Linked DNA regions of Homo sapiens: region 1 is linked to region 2. The links are contacts of gene promoters, found by promoter capture Hi-C in blood cells and fetal thymus (Javierre and others, 2016). All regions are on one chromosome and are shown on one strand. Each heading gives the region's core, a stretch centred on a gene start or on the middle of the fragment in contact. The rest is flanking DNA. Distances are from core to core; before and after follow the strand shown.

Region 1 (5,363 bases), core at 1-2,500, 1.4 Mb before region 2:
CGCCGAGCTTCTGGAGCGCATTTCTTGACCTAAAAGTTTTTTTAAAGCCGGCACCGCAGTTAAAAATGCTTCGGCGGGGGGCCGGGCCCGGTGTCTCGCGCCTGTAATCCCAGCACTTAGGGAGGTCAAAGCGGGTGGATCACCAGAGGTCAGGAGTTCGAGACCAGCCTGGCCAACATGGCAAAACCTCATCTCTGCTAAAAGTACAAAAATTAGCCGGGCGTGGTGGCGGACACCTGTAATCCCAGCACTTTGGGAGGCCGAGATGGGTGGATCACTTGAGGTCAGGAGTTCGAGACCAGCCTGCCCAACATGGCGAAATCCCATCTCTACTAAAAATACAAAAACTAGCCAGGTGTGGTGGTGCGCGCCTGTAGTCCCAGCTACTCAGGAGGCTAAGGCAGGAGAATCGCATGCCCCCAGGAGACGGAGGTTGCAGTGAGCCGAGATCGCGCCACCGCACTCCACACTCCAGCCTGGGCGACAGAGGTAGACCCTATCTAAAAAAAAAAAAAAATGCTTCGGGGCCAGTGGGGTAGTCTAGGTTAAAGACCCGAGCCTATTTGGAGAGAAGAGTGGAGGGGACTGCGGCCAACTGCAGAGCGAGCGCCAGCCCCTGTGGCAGGTGGGGATGCAGCCTGGGGCAGCCAGGTCTTCCCATTGCGAGAGAAACAGGGTTCATCAGCTTTCTAGGAATAAGATCTGCGGTTCTCAATTGATTTTTCTCTGTAAAATGAGGGGGGTGGGTTGGATATGTTTGATTCTAGGAATGGTGTGAGCTGCGCTAATAGGCTGCTTCTGTTTAAGCAGGGTAACATCTGATAAATCAGTGATCCTTCATCAGTACGAGATGGCGTGCCCTAAAGGTCCCCAGGAGCCCAGATTGCCCATAATCGTGTTCTGTGATTTCGGTCTTTCCTGGGAGTCTCTTGTCTACCCAGCCATGTCATGGATATTAAAGTAATACTTACACATCAGCGCTCCACATCTGATGGGGCAGCTTGAAATGGCCTCTTTGGGTCGCACAACTGCAAAAACATGTTCCTGTAATGGAGAAGAGAGGAAGCTGTCAAAAAAGACCCATCAAAAGGCTAAGATTAGAAAAAAGACTCAGAAAGACCATGTGAACATATCAACAGAGTTGCACTGAGATACCATAGCCAATTTTTTTTCCTGTTTCTTTATACTTTTTTTATGGTGGTAAAAGATACATAACATACATTTTACCATCTTAACTATTTTTAAAGATACAGTTCAGTGGCATGAAGTGCATTCACATTGTGCAACCATCACCACCACTATCCATTGGCAGAACTCTTTTCATCTAGCAAAATTGAAACTGTAGTTAAACAACTCCCTTATTTTCCCTCCATGACCTTTCTACTTTCCATCTTTATTAATTTGACTATTCTAGAAACCTCATGTAAGTGGAGTAACACAATATTCTTCCTTTTGTGACTATTTCATTCAGCATGATGTCTTCAAAGTTTATCCCATGCTGTAGCATGCATTAGGATTTCCTTCCTTGTTAAGGCTGAATAATACTCCATTGCATGTATAGACCACATTTTGTTTATCTACTTATCTGTCGGTAAACATTTTGGTTACTTCTACATTTTAGCTGTTGTAAATAATGTTGCTATGAACATGAGTATCAAATATCTGTTCGAGTCCCTGCTTTCAATTCTTTGGGGTATATATGTAGCAGGGGAATTGCTAGATCATATGGTAATTCTATGTTTATTTTTTTGAGGAACTATACTTTTTTGTAGTTTGCAAATCTTTCACAGTAAACAGGATCACTTTTGTAAGACAAGTAGGGGAAAAAGCCTTACTTTATGCCCTCAGATTAGTTCCCAGTGTTGAGCTCATGGTCAAAGTGTGAATTAGAATAGTGAATGTGAAAGTAAATACAGTACTGACCCTAGGGAACTGAACTCAGCAGGTAGTAGATTGCTTACCACTCGTTCAGTGTTCATCTTTAGCTCAGAATTTATCTTAATGAGGCAGAGGGATGGTAGCAAGTGGTTAGGAGACTGAGCATGGGCTTCAGACCAGGATCCAAATTCCATCTCTCCCACTTACTGTGCTGTGTGACCTGGGACAAGTTACTCAAACCTCCCAGGGACTTGGTTTCACCTCCTGCAAATAAGGCTAACACCACCTACCTTGCAGGTTTAAGTGAGGATTGCAGTCTTGCATGTAAAATGCTTAGCCCAGTGTGATAGTTACTTTTACATGTCATCTTGACTGGATCACGGATGCCCAGATATCTGGTTAAACATTATTTCTTGGTGTGTCTGTGAAGTTGTTTTCAGAAAAGATGAGCATTTGAATGGATAGACTGAGTAAAGTGGATTGCCCTCCCCAAAGTAGGTGGGCAGCATCCAGTCTGTTGAGGGCCTAAATAGAACAAAAAGCCAAAGAAGGAAGAATGTGTCCTGTCTCCTCCTGCATGCTTGATCTGGGATATCTTCTGCCCTTGGTGCTCCTGGTGCTGAGGCCTTCACACTCAGGCTGGAACCTACACCCTTGGCTCTCAGGCCTTCAGGCTACAACACCAGCCTTCCTGCTAACAAGTCTCCAGCTTGCAGACAGCAGATCATGGGACTTCTCAGCCTCCATAACTGCATGAGCTAATACCTTATAACAAATCCCTTTCTAGATGTAAATATATGCCATTGGTTCTGTTTCTCTGAAGAACTCTAATACACCCAGTAATTAACATGAGTAAATGCTCAGTAAAAGGGTGACTGTTGTTATTGCTGATACCCAGAACACCATGACATAGAAGGTACGGGTTTGAGGTTTGGTTCTTTCTTACCAGTAAGGTGCCCTTATTCCAGTCATTTTTTTTTTCTTTTCTTTTTCATCAATGATTGATGAACATAAGTATGAGGGTAAAATGGCAGAGCAAGCATTAGACTGTAAATCTAGAGACAGGTTGAGCCCTCTTTTTACCAGTGCCGAGGTGAGTTTCATGTTGGAAGCTTCAGGAGCAGCTTCATTTCTGCTGGGGCTTCTCCCGCCTTTTTCCCCCTCAATGGGAAATAACAGGTTTCGTTATTTTCATTGGAAAAAAAGGCAGAGGAAACCCCAGACACTGCACGGTTTTTAGGCCCTAGCCTCACCAGTCTCAAGCCTCCTATCAAGGAGGGCCATATAGTGCCTCTGATCTGCTTGATGCAGACCCTAGGGTCCTTCCCACTCCCATGAGCCACCCACCAGAGTGAGCTAAGAAATCAACTGGCAGAGAGCAGAGTCACGTATGGCCAAGAGGAATTGTTCTGGGGGTTGTTTAGTAAGCAGGAGAGAGGGAGGAGAAGAAAAACTGCACAGGGATCAGATGCCTCCAGCAGAAGAAAGCGAGGCATAGAGATCCCTTACCATCTGAGTCACGTGGCACCAAATATGTTACCAGTGGCAAATCAGTAGACACCTGCAGCAACCTCAATCTTGTCTCCTCAGAAGAAAATTCAACTGGGGGCATAAGGCAGAAAAAGTGACCGAGGCAAGCTTCAGAGCAGGAGTGGAAGTTTATTTTAAAAAACTTTAGGCCGGGTGCAGTGGCTCACACCTGTAATCTCAACACTTTGGGAAGCCAAGGCAGCCGGATCACGAGGTTAAGAGATGGAGACCATCCTGGCCAACATGCTGAAACCCCATCTCTACTAAAATACAAAAATTAGCTGGGCATGGTGGCGCATGCCTGTAGTCCCAGCTACTCAGGAGGCTGAGGCAGGAGAATCGCTTGAACCCGGGAGGCGGAGGTTGCAGTGAGTTGAGATTGCACCACTGCACTCCAGCCTGGGCGACAGAGCAGGACTGCATCTCAAAAAACAACAACAAAAAACTTTAGAACAGGAAAGAAAGTAGAGTATGCTTGGGAGAGACCTAAGCAGGCAACTTGAAGGACAAGTGCTCCATTTTACTTTAAGGAAAATTAATCATTCTTTCTGTTTCAAAGATGCTGGGTAAAATTGAAATTGTTGTTTTCCCACAAGGTGAGCAAATAATGAGCATCTACTACAGGAAAGAAAGTCCATCAAAAAAGCCAACAATGGAGAGGCTCACAGCCCCTTTCCAATGTACAGGAATCTGAAACTGAGACTGAGGCAAGAGCAGCCTAGACCAGAACCCAGACACTGGCCCTCCTGTGCAAACACCCTCTACTCCACCAAGCCTCTTCCTAAAGCCCAAGGTGGCGACATGTTAACCTATCTGTGCACGCTTCTCAATTGATTTCTTTCCCAATCAGCCTGATAATATGTGACTCTAGCACAGCAAAGAATCATCAACAACAGAACCTTTTAATTTTATATTATTATTATTATTATTATTATTTAGACAAGATCCTTCTCTGTCACCCAGGCTGGAGTGCAGTGGCACGATTATAGCCCACAGCAACCTTGAACTCCTGGGCTCAAGTGATTCTCCCACCTCAGCCTCCTGCGTAGTTAGGACTACAGGGATGCGCCACTATGCCCGGCTCCTTGTTAACAACTTTTAAAATTTTTGTAGAAATGGGGTCTCGCTATGTTGTCCAGGCTGATCTTGGACTCCTGCTCTCAAGCAATCCTCCTGCCTCAGCCTGCCAAAGTGCTGAGATTACCAGGCATGAACCACTGTCCTGGCCTAATTTTATATTAGAAATGCTTTCAGTGTTTGGGAATGATTGTATACAGGATTAAAAAAGAAGACAAATGCTTTCAGTGACGTCAGATAAAGGATAAGGGTAGTAGTTGGATTTTTATTTGCAACACATCTCAGGGAGCTCTTTATTATCCAGAAGCCTAAACTTCATGCCAGCATCGGTTTTATTACCTAAGAGAACCACAGATTAGAACCCAGGAGAAATATTTTCTCTGTTTACAATGGGTAGATTGATTTTTCTTTGGGGTGTTTGCATAACTAAACTAAGCACTTTGTACTACAGTGATACTTTATATTTTTATACCTCTATTTTTCCCAAACATTTTCGTATTCAAAGTGTATGTGAGGCATAATATAGCGTAGGGGGTTAAAAGCACAGACTTTGGAGCCAGACTGGTTGGGTGTGAATCCCAGCTCTGCCACGTAGCAATTCTGAGACTTTGGATGAGTGTCATCCTCTGTACACCTCAGCTTCTTCCTAAGCCTCGTAGGTGGACTTAATGCATGTGAAGCTCTTAGAATAGTGCCTGGGAGGCAGTAAGTTCAATAGATCTGTTCGCTGTTTTTATCTTCTTTGAGTCACTCAGCAACCCTAAGGCTTGGTAGGGCAGAGGTTATTCCCATTTAACATGGGAAAAAACAAGATCACACCATGGTTAAGTCATAAAGCTGAGACCAGAGCTCAGGTCCGTTGGCCCTTAGTCCTGTGC
Region 2 (7,725 bases), core at 51-2,550:
GCCTAGGATGGATAATGGCCCTCGCTGGTGCATGAGACCCAGGTTATTTCTCCATCCCTTGTGGTTTACTTGCCTACATTGATTGATTGATTGGTTGATTAAGATAGATGGTCTTGCTTTGTTGCCCAGGCTGGAGTGCAGTGGTGCAGTCATAGGTCACTGCAGCCTCAACCTCCTGGGCTCAAGTGATCCTCCCACCTCAGCCTTTGGAGTAGCTGGGAACATAGGTGTGCCACCACACCAGATTAATTTTTATTTTTTTTTGTGGAGACGGGGTCTCACTGTGTCGCCCAGGCTGGTCTGGAACTCCTGGGATCAAGCAATCCTCCTGCCTCGGTCTGCCAAAGTGCTGGGATTACAGGCATGAACCACGGGCCCCCACCACCACGTTTTAGGAAATGTTCACATTGGAGTGTGCCCTCTGTTTCCAGCTGGGCCCCCGACTGGTCATTGTGGTCTAATGGAGTGTGGTGCCGGCAGCTGCCAGCGCCTGCCCTCTGAGAGGGGTGGCGAGGGGCACACAGGACCAGACTGCCCCTACTGTTGGATGACTGGGTAAGTCGCTTTCCTTCTCTGGGTCTCTGTTTTCCAATATTTAACATCTTGTTGTGGGCTAAGTGAAGTCCAAGTCCCTTCCGATTCTAACATGAGGTTGTCCCGGAATATCTATTTTGTGTTCTGAATTTAATAACCGGCTGTGGAGGGCACCACAGGCAAATCTGTACTGTGAGTGGGTTGCTGCCACTCAATTATCTGACAGCAGCTGCGAACAGGTGGGCAGTGTGTTTTCCATAGGCAGCGACGACTTTTGGAGGTGGATTCAGAGGCACAACTAAGCCGCGCGGCGCATCAGGGTTCAAGGGCATGGGGCTCCCGCAGCTGTGGCTGGGGCAGAGCTGGGGCTGGTCCCTCCCTCCAGGAGCACAGGGCGGGCGGTCCAGCCTCACGTCTCTCGGCCTCCAGCCACACCCGGCCCGCGCAGTGGGGGGCCCAACAGACTTTTCCTTTTCGGGCCTCAGTCTTCTCGTCAGCAAGGGCGGACAAGGACTCTTCTCGTCCCGCCAGAGGAGGCGACCGAGGGGCCTGAGCTCAGGTACAGGCCGGCGGGCTCAGGAGGCGCGAGCGCGGATCGAATCCGCGGGAGGAGCAAAGATCCTTGATGCGCGGCCGGAGGGCGGGGCGGAGGACGGGACCCACGCGATTGGTATCCTGCCCTCCGCCCCAGCCAATGAGCGGCGAGGGTGTCTTGGGGGCGGGGCAGAATCAGCCTTTAAGTTGCAGTGACTCTCCGGCGTCACTGTTGCGCTTCATAGACGCCGCGTGTACCCGGTTGTCCTCAGGCGCTGTCAGGTACCGTCTGGGCGCCGCTGTCCTGGGGCTCTGGTTCGGGCCCTGGCCGGGGTTCCCTGACAGCGGCGGGGGAGGCGGGCGGGCGCGGGGTGGCCGCGGCCCGGGTTCGGGGGATGCTGGCTGAGGGGGCGCGCTGGGCCTCGGCCGGGGAACGAGCCCCGCTTCAGCGGCCCGTTTACTCTGCGGGCGGCTCGGACCCGGGCGCCCTGGAGTCTCCGGCCGGCGCGCAGCTTCAGGGGGCAGGGGCGTGGCGACCCACGGCTTGCAGGCCGGAGTCCTGGTTCCAGCCCAGAGCGGCCGACGGGCGGGCGGCAGGGAGAGGCTGAGGATGTGGCAGCCCCGCCTGCCAGACCGGGCGGAGCCGCCGCCCCCTGCGCTCGCGGCCTGTGGAGGCCAGGACTCGGCCCACCCGGCCCAGAGACCCCGAGGCGCCCCGGGGTTCCGGGTAGGAGGCCTTTGGGCACCCTTGGTTCCTGGGGTTGGCGGGGAGGCTGCGTTCTGGGGACGGGGGAGCTGTGCAGTAAACCGGTGGCCCTGGTCACGCGGCGGGGGCGCTGATGCAGCCTTGGAGGGCTGGGTCCTCCCGGCCTGCTCCTGCGCCCTGCAGATCGGCCTGCCCATCGCTCCCCTCTTCCAGCCTATGATTTTTTTTCTCCAGCCTCTGTCGAAATAAAGAAAATTACGGAAGCAGAACCTTCCTTACAGTAACGTGCAGGTTAATTAGATGGTGGGGGATGGGGGGGCAACAGGACTTTCAGCATGAAAACCTCCCGTTGGGGGCTTTTTGCAAACCCTGCTGAGCATCAGTAAATGGGCCTGGCCAGTGCGTTTCCTCGATCGCCTTCCCGGGCGGGACGGGAGGGGTCATTGTCCGCCCTTTGCTGGCGAGAGGACTGAGGCCCGAAGTCACCTGGGCACTCGCCCTGTGACCCACCGTCTCCTTTTGTCACTCTACATCTTACCTTTTCGGTGTTCAGTTTTACCTCTTAGATAAATTACGGTGATAAATTAAGGGCGAACAGACAGTGACTTTGGAATGAAGTGGCTTTACCTTAAGAAATGACTAATGTTCAGTTTCCAAATTCTAAATTTCTCCTTCTGGGATTGAAAGGGTTTCTGTGGATAAGCTAGTTCTTTCAGTTAACCCCGGAACTGTTCTTTAGATTGTAATCAATCGCTCTTAGCCATGTGAAATAACAATAGACTCCTTTCATTAGAATATCCTGGTTCTGTCTTTAGATGAATCTTTTCATAAAAACGAGCGTTAAATTAAAAAGCTTATTTTTAGCCCGGCACGGTGGCTCACACCTGTGTAATCCCAGTATTATGGGAGGCCCAGGCAGGCGGATCACCTGAGGCCAGGAGTTTGAGACTAGCCTGGCCAACATGGTGAAACCCTTTCTCTACTAAAAATACAAAAATTAGCCAGACATCGTGGTGCGCGCCTGTAATCCCAGCTACTCGGGAGGCTGAGGCAGGAGAATTGCTTGAACCCGGGAGGCAGAGCTTGCAGTGAGTTGAGATCGTGCCACTGCACTCCAGCCTGGGCGACAGACTCCGTCTCGAAAAAAAAAAAAAAAAAAAAAAAAGCTTATAGTTTTGGGTTTACAGTTTTTCATGGTGTTTAAGATTAGTTTTGCATCCCCCCCCCAAAGAAAAATCCAGTATAACTTTAAATAGTAAACATTTTTAAAAGACATTTTTCCCTCAAAGCAGCTGTCTTAATATGTATTATCCCCATAGCGTGCCTTTATTACAGTTATTTGTGTGCATATTTTATGCCCTTTAGTGAGTTCTTGAGGACCTTTCAAATCTCAAACATTTACAAATAGTGATGAATGCACGAATTTGGATGTGTGTGGAGGATGTGCTGTAGTTGACCCCGGTCCTTTCTCAGTAGTAAAACTAGTTGTTTGCCAATGATGCACTTGGCTTGAATTTTAGCCAGAATACTGATTACGTCAAAGAGACTTCTGTTGGTAGAACTTTTTTTTTTTTTTTTTTTTAAAGGCCTGTATTTGTGAATGGTTACCTCAGGAAAAGTAAATATTTGTCAAAATAGCAAGAACAAATTTACTCCTCAAGTTGAATATTTTAAGTGGCTTTTGGACAACTTTACGCCGACTATTCTTTTAGAGTAAGAAAATAGTTTTTAAGAGTATAGGCTAAATTAACTTCAAAATGCAGCCTTTTGTGGAAATTCTACTGTAGGTATGTTCTAATGTAGATGGATGGGCTAGATGGAGGGAGTAATGGTAGCCTGAAGGACCCTGTTAATTACGTGGATAAAACCTTCAGTGTTAGAATTCTAGCTTGCCAAGAGCAATTTGTTCTCATTTCCAGGACCTGAGTATGGGCGTCAGGTAGATGCATGATAGCTGCCTGGAACACATTATTTTGACCTTTGAAGGCCATTAGATCTAATGAAGTAAACTCTTGATGAAGAGATGAGTTATTCTAGATGAGGTCAGAGAGTGAACACCCCCTCTTAGAGTTAGACTCAACCTGGTCAGGGATAGGTGATCCCATGGTCTTGATCACTTGCTACCTTGACTCCCTCAGGAGTCCTAAGTAAGACTGACCTCTTTATCTGATAAAGGCCCACAGGATGCCCAACCTGGGCTAGGTTCTAGGAATGCAAAGTGAATTTTACTGTTTTTTAAAGGAGCTTAGAGTATAGACTTATAGGCATAAAAACAAGTGGCCTGCAGTGTTAGGACCCGTTACAAGTCTGCACAGTCCCTGGGAGTCTCTAGGAGGGACTTAAATAGTAAATTCTATAGGGGAGGGTGAAAAAAAGCTAATATGGATGCTAATTATGCATAGAAAAAATAACCAAATGTTAATGGTTATCATGCAAGTGTAAAATTGCTGGTAATTTTCTTGTCTGTGTTTTCTAATTTTTTATCAACTGAAAAATGGTGTGTGTGTGTCTTTTTAAACAGTTTTAAAAATAAATCATGGCACTGTTGATTCTGATATTTCAGAAACTGGCTAGTTTTAAGGGCAAAAGGGAACTGAGTGGCCATTTTGTGCTGGATTTGGCACAGTAACATTAACCCATTTCATCCTCAGTGACACTTCAACCTCCTTTTACAAATGGGGAGACTGAAGCTCAGAAAGATTGACAGAATCACCCAGAGTTACTCTTCAGAACCACAGACAGAATTTAAAATCCCGGTCTCCAAACTCGGGATTTTCCGCTTGATTCTCCCGGTTTTGAAACCTTTTTGGAAGAGGCTGTTATTGATGTTGGCTATTTTTAAGTCCATCTTAATTCTGCTCTAAGATTTCTCATACAGTGCCAAGCACAGTAACTTGAACACAGAAGGTTCTTTAATAGAAATGCGTTTACAGGATTTTGATACATCATGGCTCATCCAGTTTCTGACCTTTCCCAGTTGAATTAAATATCCAGAATTCATCTTAAAAACCTTAAGAATAGCTGACTCAGGGGTGTGTGCCTGTAGTCCCACCTCTTCCTGAGGCTGAGGCAGAAGGATCCCTTGAGCCCAGGTGTTCGAGGCCAACCTGGGCAACATAGCTGAGACTCCATCTGTAAGTGAAAAGAAACAAAAACCTTAAGAATGAGTATTAGTAATGTTTTGAATGATATTATTTTGTCCCCAGTTATTCTTTAATAAAACTGCCTAAACTTAACAGGTAAATGAATTTTTCATCCCATTTCTGTTGGAAATTAGCTGTGCAGATAACTTTTATATAAAATAAGAATGTTGAATTTAGATAATCTCTGATATTCCTTTTTTTTTTTTTTTTTTTTTTTTTTTTTTTTTTTTTAGCGCTTTGTAGCCCAGGCTGGAGTGCTGGTGGCACAGATCGTGGCTCACTGCAGCCCAGAACTCAGGGCTCAAGAGATCTTTCCACCTTAGTCTTAGTCTCCTAAGTACCAGATACTACAGGTACGCATCGCCACACCTGGCTAATATTCATATTTTTTATAGAGATGGGGTCTCCCTATGTTGCCCAGGTTGATCTTTAACTCCTGGGCTCAAGTGATCTGCCTTGGCCTCCCAAAGCGCTGGGATTATAGGCGTGAGCCACCTTGCCTGGCCCTAGAAAGTTGTTACGGTTTAGAGCACCACTAAGTATTGCCTGAGTGTTTTACTGCTAATTTGATAGGCAAAAATTAATGTTCTAATTTTTTAGTTGATCAAACAATTTATTCATACTGAGTAAAGCATAAAGAGTCCAAGAAAGAAATCATACATGAGTGTTTTAGACTTAGCAGTAGTATTTTGGGGAAGTTACATATAGTACAGTTAGACATTTTTGCTAGCAGCTACCTCCAGTTGGATGATTCTTACATCACTTTTGTTTTGATTGTTGGTACCCACCCCTTTGAGATAAAGTCTGATGAAAGTTATGGACCTTCTTCTTGGAAAAATATACGTCTGCATGTAATTCTGCATTTTATTTCAGGAGATTTTGGACTCTCTGCAGACTGTCCCTGGATCTTGGGTTAAAAATCTGTATTCTAGACTGAACCGTGGGAAGAAAAAATAGTCAGTGAGTCTTTGGCAAACCGGAGTACTGGATTTTGTTTAGCAATTGCAAATTCCTGAACATACTGGATTTACTGGGTAGTGCCAAGTTTAAAGGGAAGTAAGCCAAACTCCAAGTATTATGTTTTGCTAATTTGGCAGCTCGAATCAAGAGTGGCTGTGAGATTATACATGGTTTGACTTGTCATTGGTAGACTTCTGTTGAAACATGAATTAACTAGTCTTTTAGAAAGTAAGTATAGATGGAATAAGTATGCCTAGTTTTTGGCAACTTTCTCCTAATCATGAATTTATCTTTAAGCTTTTTTTTTTTTTTTCCTTCCAGAGGTGATTCCTATGCACATGCTCTAATTTCCTTTTAATTATTAGTTTCTTTCATAGCTTAGTTTTTACTTCATGGCTTATCAGGATGCTTAATGGTAAATTGGGTACAAAGAGGTGTGTGAAGCCTTGTGGAGGGGCTAGTTTTAGGGCTGGGGGTGACTGGGGAGAGTAGCTATGGCTCTGACTTATGTGATGGGGCGGCAGGGTAAACACCAGCCTGCTCAGTGATGTTTAGACTTTAACACTCATACAAGTAACGGATTGTAGTTTGTAGTTTGACTCTCTCTAGTTTCTCAGTTACCTTTTGCTAACAATAGCTTTTTCGTTTGTTTGTTTGTTTTTTGAGACGGAGTTTCACTCTTGTTGCTCAGGCTGGAGTGCAATGCGCAGTCTTGGCTCACTGCAGCCTCGTCCTCCCAAGTTCAAGCGATTCTCCTGCCTTAGCCTCCTGAGTCGCTGGGATTACAGGCATGCACCACCACGCCTGGCTAATTTTGTATTTTCAGTAGAGACGGGGTTTCTCCATGTTGGTCAGGCTGGTCTCGAACTCCCGATTCAGGTGATCGCCTGCCTCTGCCACCCAAAGTGCTGGGATTATAGGCATGAGTCACCGCACCTGGTCAACAATATCTTTTATGCTACAATTTTTCAGGATAAGTTTTGTAGAAACAACCATCCTAGCAGAATAGATTGTTTTGTTTGGGAATCTCATATATGTGTGTGTGTGTGTGTGTGTGTGTGTGTGTGTGTGTGTGTGTATGTATTTATGTATGTATGTATATGTTGGTCTAATTCAACTTGCTGTGAACACTTTAAAGCTATTATAAGTTAACATTTTTTTCCTAGTCTTTTTGCCTTTCACCTTTGTTTATGATAAATTTGACCTACAGAAGTTTTAGATATTTGTGGCTAAATAAAAGATTTTAGGCTGGGCACAGTGGCTCACACCTTTAATTCGAAAACTTTGGGAGGCCGTGGTGGGCGGACTGCTTGAGCCCAGAGGGATGGACAGTTCCTCTGTCTCCTGCCCCATGCCTAGTCTCTGGCAGTCTTCTCTGATTTGGTCTCCCTGCCTCTGGTCTCTGCCCTACAGTTGTAGCTGTCTCATAGCATTGTGCCTGATGGTATCGGACTGTGGTAGGTGCTTAACAAATACTTAGTGTTTAGCAGGTACTCAGTCAACACACAGTGCATTAGCTCTGGAAAGAGTCTTACTCTTATTGATTGGTTGGTTGATTGATTGCCTGATTGACAGGGTATCACTCTGTTGCCCAGGCTGGCCTCAAACTCTTGGGCTCAAGTGATCCTCCCGCCTCAGCCTCCTGAGCAGCTGGGGGCTACAGGCACAAACCACCACACCTGACTCAAGATTCTCACTCTTTTTTTTTCTTTTATAGAGACTATGTTGCCTAGGCTGGTCTTTAACTCCTCGGCTCAAGCGATCCTCCCATCTTGGCCTCCCAAGGTGCTGGAATTACAGATGTGAGCTATCACGCCTGGCCATTTTTTTTTTCTTGAGACTGGGCCT

Evidence for each region. The method cuts DNA at HindIII sites, captures the fragments that hold promoters and counts their contacts. A CHiCAGO score of 5 or more calls a contact.
Region 1: a contact is called between a fragment that was not itself captured here and the fragment with the promoter of OAT in region 2, in 1 of 17 cell types (naive CD4 T cells). The highest score is 8.8, in naive CD4 T cells.

The regions. Positions count from the first base shown.
Region 1 is chr10:125,817,474-125,822,836 of GRCh38, reverse strand. All of the region lies in intron 1 of UROS (uroporphyrinogen III synthase), which reads left to right. MIR4484 (microRNA 4484) reads right to left here and starts at 3,097; the gene lies at 3,015-3,097. The HindIII fragment of the contact is 3,485 bases long and covers 1-2,992 here.
Region 2 is chr10:124,412,498-124,420,222 of GRCh38, reverse strand. OAT (ornithine aminotransferase) reads left to right here and starts at 1,300. Exons shown (of 10, transcript NM_000274.4): 1 at 1,300-1,350. RefSeq lists an enhancer at 111-625 and silencers at 599-1,258, 1,201-1,740. The HindIII fragment of the contact is 6,386 bases long and covers 1-2,629 here.